Linked DNA regions of Homo sapiens: regions 1 and 3 are each linked to region 2. Evidence: promoter capture Hi-C in 16 types of primary human blood cells and fetal thymus (Javierre and others, 2016). All regions are on one chromosome and are shown on one strand. Each heading gives the region's core, a stretch centred on a gene start or on the middle of the fragment in contact. The rest is flanking DNA. Distances are from core to core; before and after follow the strand shown. Region 1 has its middle 17 kb from the start of SYCE1L. Region 2 holds the start of GCSH (glycine cleavage system protein H). Region 3 overlaps NUDT7 (nudix hydrolase 7).

What was found. The method cuts DNA at HindIII sites, captures the fragments that hold promoters and counts their contacts. A CHiCAGO score of 5 or more calls a contact.
Region 1: a contact is called between a fragment that was not itself captured here and the fragment with the promoter of GCSH in region 2, in 1 of 17 cell types (activated CD4 T cells). The highest score is 5.2, in activated CD4 T cells.
Region 3: a contact is called between a fragment that was not itself captured here and the fragment with the promoter of GCSH in region 2, in 2 of 17 cell types (non-activated CD4 T cells and total CD4 T cells). The highest score is 12.3, in non-activated CD4 T cells.

Annotation. Positions count from the first base shown.
Region 1 is chr16:77,214,839-77,217,538 of GRCh38, reverse strand. No RefSeq gene overlaps it. Among named protein-coding and RNA genes, the nearest start is that of SYCE1L, 17 kb to the right of the region's middle. The HindIII fragment of the contact is 2,250 bases long and covers 257-2,506 here.
Region 2 is chr16:81,095,094-81,097,793 of GRCh38, reverse strand. GCSH (glycine cleavage system protein H) reads left to right here and starts at 1,399. Exons shown (of 5, transcript NM_004483.5): 1 at 1,399-1,663. The coding sequence starts at 1,516. RefSeq lists silencers at 1,063-1,162, 1,313-1,982. The HindIII fragment of the contact is 7,249 bases long and covers 544-2,700 here.
Region 3 is chr16:77,725,040-77,727,739 of GRCh38, reverse strand. NUDT7 (nudix hydrolase 7) reads right to left here. Exons shown (of 4, transcript NM_001105663.3): 2 at 2,156-2,309. Among named protein-coding and RNA genes, the nearest start is that of NUDT7, 3.9 kb to the right of the region's middle. The HindIII fragment of the contact is 1,893 bases long and covers 474-2,366 here.

The DNA of each region.
Region 1 (2,700 bases), core at 132-2,631, 3.9 Mb after region 2:
GCCGAGACTGCACCACTGTACTCCAGCCTAGGCAACAGAGCGAGACTCCATCTTACTAAATAAATAAATAAATAAATAAATGTATTAGAAACGGTGACTTAACATATGGTGGGCAGGAGGGTGGGCAAGTGGTCTCTTCAGGGCAGGGTCCTCGCTAGTGCTGTGGGCACCAGAAGGGGAAGAACAGCCATGTGCTCTCCTCTGGGTAGTAGGATACTGAAATTGGGATATTTTGGGGTGTATGTTTTTTGAAGCTTTGACTGTGATTTTTAAACAATAAAATGTTCTAAAAATATAAAGGTAACCACTGAGAAAGATATTTAATCTCAGAGTGGAAGAGAAATTTATAGGTAATGGGCATTTTAGATAATGTAGGTTTAATAAGACTTTAGAAATAAGAAGACACACGGAAAGTAAAACAGGCTTTCCAAAAATGAGGCACAAAATATAAAGACAATGACTCCAGAAAAGAAGGTCATTAAATGCCTACTGGCTTTCATAAGATACAATTGGAAGGAATCTTTATAACTCTTAAATAGGTCTGATCACAGAAGTAAAACATGACTGCACACACTTGGAAGAAATCAATTAATTTTAGCAGGGCATGGTGACTCACGCCTATAATCCCAGCACTTTGGGAGGCCAAGGTGGGTGGATCATTTGAAGTCAGGAGTTTGAGACCAGCCTGGCCAATATGGTGAAACCCTGTGTCTACTAAAACTACAAAAATTAGCCGGGCGTGTTGGTGGGCACCTGTAGTCCCAGCTACTTGGGTGGCTGAGACAGGAGAATCGCTTGAACCCGGGAGGTGGAGGTTGCAGGGAGCCGAGATTGTGCCACTGCACTCTAGCCTGGGCGACAGAGTGAGAGTCCATCTCAAAAAATAAATAAATAAAAATAAAAAAAGAGATAAATTAATTTCAGAGTTAACACCAAGGAAGGACTACAAGACAAAAAACAGGCACCTAGGCTATTCAAATCATCTCCATCTAATAATGACTTGATAATGAAAGGAAGAAGAATGGAACTAATGTAATCTTTGGGTAAATGTTACTCAAGATTCCAATGAGAAAGATGCTGGGTAGGATTACGGTGAGTAATAGGTCACAAAAACAGAGTTTGAGTTTTGTAGGAAAATGGAAAATGAAGTCTAGGTACTTGTGAATTTTGTAGGTATGGCAAATATGTTAATTCTGCCACTGACCAGTCCCTTAAAACAGCTGGTAGATCAGCAAATAGAATATGCACGGACCTCTCACTGTTCTACTCACTGGTTAGCATCACTGCTTAACAAGATCCTAGAATGGAGAAAAGTAAGAGCTCAATATCCAGGTTCCCAGGAAAAGGTGGCCTGGGATTGTATTCACCTGTACTTGATGTTTTGATTGCTGTCTGAAATCTAAATGAACACAAAATTGAGAGATCAAAAAAGAAATGGTGGATGCCTTTGATTCTCTGAAACGTAACATGCTACATGTCCTCAAAACTTTATGAACGGCCAGTCAGGGTGGCTCACGCCTGTAATCCCAGCACTTTGGGAGGCCAAGGCGGGTGGATCACTTGAGGTCAGGAGTTTGAGACCAGCCTGGCCAACATGGTGAAACCCCGTCACTACTAAAAATACGAAAATTAGCTGGGTGTGGAGGTGGGCGCCTGTAATCCCAGTGACTCGGGAGGGTGAGGCAGGAGAATCCCTTGAACTCAGGAGGTGGAGGTTGCAGTGAGCCGTGATCTCGCCATTGCACTCCAGCCTAGGCAACAAGAATGAAACTCCATCTCAAAAAAAAAAAAAAAAAGGGAATTTAAGTAACCTAACTGTGTAACCTGAAGTTACACAGCTAGTATGCAGCAGAGCTGGGATTCTAACAAACACAGTCTGGCCCTGGGTTCTGTTCTGCTAACTAGTGTGCTCTATTAGGTAGTAATATTATTATCCTCCGGGAGATTCTACTGCAGTCACTTTGGCCACTCTCTCTTCCATGCCTTGTCTAGCTTGCTACTCAGGATGTGCTATGTTTGCATCTCTTCGGGCCCCTCCTCTGACTCCTCTGTTTTTCAGTGGGTTTCTTTCTGGCTTACTTTTTTCAAGAATGTCCTGGCCGGGTGCGGTTGCTCACGCCTGTAATCCCAGCATTCTGGGAGGCCGAGGCGGGCGGATCACGAGGGCAGGAGATCGAGACCATCCTGGATAACACGGTAAAACCCCGTCTCTACTAAAAATACAGAAAAACATTAGCCGGGTGTGGTAGCGGGCACCTGTAGTCCCAGCTACTCTGGAGGCTGAGGCAGGACAATGGCGTGAACCTGGGAGCCGGAGCTTGCAGTGAGCCGAGATGGCGCCACTGCACTCCAGCCTGGGCGACAGAGCGAGACTCCGTCTCAAAAATAAATAAATAAATAAATAAAAATAATAATAATAATAAAAAGAATGTCCTTCCGCCTTTTGGCAACACTGAGCTCCCCCAGGCTCATTCACATTTGAACCTGAACTACAAGCCAAGAAGCTTGAGAATTATGGTAATTGAATGCAAGCCCTGAGAAAAGCTGTTACAGGAAGTGAGTGAAGACTTCCCAGGCAGCTGTCAATTATTTCAATGAAAGGAGAAGTAGCCCTGCCAGGAAGGTCAGTTGAGTCAGGAGAACACAGGGCAAATCAAAAGCCAAAGTCTCGCTCTGTCGCCCAGGCTGGAGTGTAGTGGC
Region 2 (2,700 bases), core at 150-2,649:
ATGATCCACCCCTTGTTTAGCATACAATCAAGAAATAACTATAAGTACACTTAGTCGAGAAGCCATACTGCTGCTCTGTCTACGAAGAAGCCATTCTTTTTTTTCTTTACTTCTCTATTAAACGTGCTTTCACTTTATAGACTCTCCCCAAATTCTTTCTTGCATGAGGTCCAAAAACCCTCTCTTGGGGTCTGGATTGGGAGCCCTTTCTGTAACAGTACTAAAGGTGTGTGTGTAGCTTAAGGTGTTTTTCAGAACAGTATTTCTTTGCTGACTCATGGCCACTCCATAAAATCTGTGTTAAAGGTGAGGTTTTTCCCAGAACCTAATTTTTTTCTGACTTCTTGGATTGGGATGATGACTTCGGCTTTTCTCGGAAGGCCTTGGTCACACCGCTGGCCGATGAAACAAGGAATTGTGCACACTGGGTCTCAGCTCTCTGCGTTTTGAATATTTCTGCATTAGTGACTGGCTTGGGTCCAGTCTCCACCAAGAAGCCACTTATGACCCTTGGACAAGTCTTTATTCCTTTTTAAGTAAGCTTCTGGATTCTGCCGGTCCTGTTTGGGGTCCCTGGGGCTCTTTGAGACAGGAACGTTACAGAGCAGTTGAAGGAGAATAGAAACTTCCAGGCTGCAGTTCTGTCTAACAAAAGGAAACTGTTGAAATAGCTGCACAAGCTATGGGCTAAGACCCTGAAAAACCAGGGTGTGGGTCAACCTGGCTAAAACCAACTGGACCCAACGTGGTGTGGCTTTGACCTAGGCTTCACCTAGGACTCATTAACATACTAAGTCACACACCCACCGGCACCACAACAATTCCGGGAACACCCATATTTGGTGTAAAAATGGGTGGCACCACAGTTCTGACAAGTCTCCACCTTATTCCAGAAACCTTTGTGTATATTCCATTTCTCAAAGAAACCCATAAAGATGGAAACCCCAAGCCCCATTGTGTGGCCCTCTTTTGAGTCCGCCCTTTCTTCAGTGTGTACTTTGCAGTAAACCTCTGTACTTTCACGACTTTCCGACTTGTTCTTGAATTCCTTCGTGAGGTGGTGAAACCACCTTTGAAAACTTATGACAGAGGCAGTAAAAGAGATACACATGTGGAAAGGAACCCAGTCTGGGGCTAGGCCCCGCCCCCCTCCTGCGGGCAGCCCAATCATACCCAGGCCCGCCGCGCTAGTCTCCGCCTCTCGGTGCTGCCTCTTCCGGGCCTCAGGTTCTTCCCCATGCCCACGCCCCTCTTTCGCGTCGCCGTATCCGAGGTCGCGCCAGGCCCTGGAGTCCCCAGTCTCCGCGTGCTGGCCAATCAGACCCTGCCTCGCCCCCTCGCCTGGGAGTCTCCGCCCTCCACGCTCTGCCCAGTCAGGCTCTGTCCCGCCCCCGCGGCACCGCCTCCGCGCCTCCATCCAGCCGGCTCCCTCCGGCCGCGAACTGCCCCTCCCCGCCCCGCCTCCCGGCGCGGGTGGCCGAGGCGTAGCGCTGCGACCCCCGCACCCCTGCGAACATGGCGCTGCGAGTGGTGCGGAGCGTGCGGGCCCTGCTCTGCACCCTGCGCGCGGTCCCGTCACCCGCCGCGCCCTGCCCGCCGAGGCCCTGGCAGCTGGGGGTGGGCGCCGTCCGTACGCTGCGCACTGGACCCGCTCTGCTCTCGGGTAAGCGCGGCGGGCACGTGGGCGGCTGCTCCCTCCCCGCCTGGGCTGCTTGTCCCGGGCCCAGCGGGACACGGAGGACGCCGGGGCACCGCTCCTGAGCCACCGGGGCGGAGCGAGCGCGGACCCTGCCCCCTTCTTATTTCTGTTGGGATCCCTGGCTCTGCGGCCGCTTCTCCCCCTTAAGTAGCGGGAGGACCCGCGAGTAGCCTTTGCCCTAGGGATTGCATGCAGCCGGGAGGGGAGGCCTGCGGGACACCGAGGCGGGGGTGGCCCGGCGGGTCCGGCGGGCAGGTCGGCCGCTTGCTGCAGAAGCCAGGCACGTGTCGCTTAAGCGTCTCGGTGGCCTTAAGTTTATCTCCCATCTGCGTGCATCGTTGAGACCCCAAATGGGGAGGCCTTTAGTTTACTAAATGGACCGTTACTGAGAACTCCGAAGTAAAATTAAAACAGAAGCGCTTATTAAAATTAAAGCACCAGGCAGGGCGCGTTGGCTCATGCCGGAGGGCGGATCACGAGGTCAGGAGATCGAGACTATCCTGGCTAACACGGTGAAATCCCATCTCTACTAAAAGTACAAAAAATTAGCCAGGCGTGGCGGCATGCGCATGTAATCCCAGCTACTCGGGAGGCTGAGGCAGGAGAATCGCTTGAACCTGGGAGGCAGAGGTTGCAGTGAGCCGAGATCGCGCCACTGCACTCCAGCCTGGGCGACAGAGCAAAACTCCACCTCAAAAAAAAAAAAAAAAAAAAAAATTAAAGCGCCAGATCTAGATTTTTTTACTAGATAAAACAATCATAACTTTGAAGATTCAGCTATTTCCCCAAAACAAGTAAGATAAAGTCTTCTGGACTCAACAGAAGTTCTGCTAAAGTTTGTATTGGATCATTCATGTGTGTGCTTGCTGAAATGAGCCCTAACTCAAACGGACTTGAAATAACTGGGAAACCTGCCCATGAATGTTTCGGCCATTTGTGCTACTTCAGCACAATTATTGCAGGGGAAAAACAATTTTCTTTTTTTTTTTTTTTCTTTTTAT
Region 3 (2,700 bases), core at 171-2,670, 3.4 Mb after region 2:
GGATTACAGGCACCCACCACCACGCCTGGCTAATTTTTTGTATTTTTAGTAGAGACAGGGTTTCGCCATGTTGGCCAGACTGGTCTCGAACTCCTGACCTCAGGTGATCCGCCCACCTCAGCCTCCCAAAGTGCTGGGATTACAGGCGTGAGCCACCGCACACGGCCATATCTGATAATTTTAAAAAATATATGTAAGTGCTTCTCCTGTGCTTATTGGCAGAGGTGGGAACAGACACTGGTCCCCTGGTTTCCATTTAAGTATTTCCCCCTGGAACCTGGATTTCTATCATGTCCTGAGTTCACGGCATTTCTGCCTGGCTCAGACCGAACACAATCCACACAAGTCTACTTCCACGTCCACAAAACTCCAGCTGATTCCTTGGCATTTTTTTTTTAAACAAAATACTTTTCATTATTCTGCTTAAAAAGCCTGTTAATATGGCTTATTTTCTTTTTGTACTTGGATAAGCTTAAAATGACTGCTTCACCAGCTTTTCCTTGGAAGTTCCCCACAGCAAGGGAAACTGACTGTGCTCACGGGTGTGGGGGTGGTAGAGTTTCGATATTTGTCCTTGCCCAAATCTCATGTTGAACTGGAGTCCCCAGTGTTGGAGGTGGGGTCTGGTTGGAGGTGACTGGATCACAGGGGCAGATTTCTCACGCATGGTTTAGCACCATCATCTTGGCACTGTCCCCATGATAGTGAGTGAGTTCTCATGAGATCCGGGGCCATTTAAAAGTGTGTGGTATTTCCCTGCTCTCTCTCTTGCTCCTGCTCCCCCTCTGCCATGATGGTACACTCCCTGAGGCCTTTCCAGAAACTGAGCAGATGCCTGTGTCATGCTTCCTGTACAGCCTGCAGAACCATGACTCAATGAAACCTCTTTTCTTTATAAATTACCCAGACTCAGATATTTCTTTTTCTTTCTTTCTTTCTTTTTTTGAGATGGAGTCTCGCTGTTCCTCAGGCTGGAGCGCAGTGGCACAATCTCGGCTCACTGCAACCTCCGCCTCCTGGTTTCAAGTGTTTCTCCTGCCTCAGCCTCCTGAGTAGCTGGGATTACAGGTGTGTGCCACCATGCCTGGCTAATTCTTTTGTATTTTTAGTAGAGATGGGGTTTCACTATGTTGGTCAGGCTTGTCTCGAACTGCTGACCTCGTGATCCTCCCACCTTGGCCTCTCAAAGTGCTGGGATTACATGCTTGAGCCACCATACCCAGCCTCAGGTATTTCGTTATAGCAATGCAAGAATGGACCAATACAAGGGGTGAGCCAGAAACTCCATTCCCAGCCCATTATTTCTGTAAAGTGACATCATTTATCTTAAAACTTCAGGTCATGTCTGACAGGTCACTTGACACTAACGATGACAGCTAAAACTTACTGAATTCTTCCTTGCCAAGTACCTGGGTTATATAGGTGCTTTACATTTGTTACCCTGTGAAATGTTCATAGCAGCTGTATGAAGCAGTTACTAATATTTTGTCCTCATTTTACAAGTGAAAAGACTGAAGTACAGAGAGGGCAAGTAACGAGGCCAAAGTCACAGCTGGCAAGGAGAGAGCCTGGATTCAACGTGGACAGCTAGCTTTAGAGCCTAGGCCGTTAACTTCTATGCTCTAGTATTTTCACATTATACTGGGGGTGGGATAGTCTAAAACAGTGGCCCTTGGTGGGGGGCAATTTGGCACCCCCAATCCTGCCAGGATAGTAGGCAATTCTGAAGACATTTGTGGTGTGTGTGCTACTGGCATACTGGACAAAGGGACAAAGGTGTGTGTGAGCTTGTGTTTGTGTGTGCTACTGGCATCTGGTGGGTAGAGGCCAAGGATGATGGTAAACACACCACATTATACAGGACAGCCTCCACACCAAAGAATTATTCAGCCCCAAATGCCAATAGCACCAAGGTTAGGTAACCCTAGTGTGAAAGCGTTTTAAACTGCTTGCTAGCTAAATTCCTTCATTTTCTTGTTAAACCTTCTCCAAGAAACACCATGTTATCCTGTGGCTTGTGGTTGTATGCCTCTGACATCACAATTTTGAAAGCCCTTTTGAGAATTTTGGCATCAAAGTGTGTGCAAGTGACAAAATCTCGTGAGGTCTTCTGATGTCCTGAGGTTTAAGGGCAGGAAATTTTTTGTCCACCTACCTTCTCTGACCGGACGGTGAACAACAAATGGAGTTTTCCTTCTTTAGCCACCAATGGCAAAAGGACGGAGTATTTGTTATATGGCAAGTGAGAATATTTGCCTCCAATATCATACTTTCTTAAGCGGGCCTTAGCATCATCTAGCAAACTGTTTCTAAAATAAAAACAAACCAGACAGACATTTTAGCAAGCAGAGTTATGGTAAAAAGCTTATAGTCCTGCCTCTGTTTCTGCTTTGTTGTGTATTTAGGAGTTTGCCATTTCTGACTCTCTGTGTATTTTTCAATAACACGACAGAAATGATACTATCTAAATTGCGTGGTTGTTCGCAAGATGAAAATGACAAAAAAACCTTCTAAGCACACAGTTTAGTACACAGGTTCTCTTTGAAACATAAAGTATGGTAAAATGTTTTTTCAATAATGCAACAGTTGAATTTTGAAACCCATAATTATATTCAGAGAAGACAGGTTTGATGAAAAAGTCATTGTTAAGGTTAGAAGGTTAGAAGACTACCTTCTGTTAAGCTGGCCCTTATGTTCTCA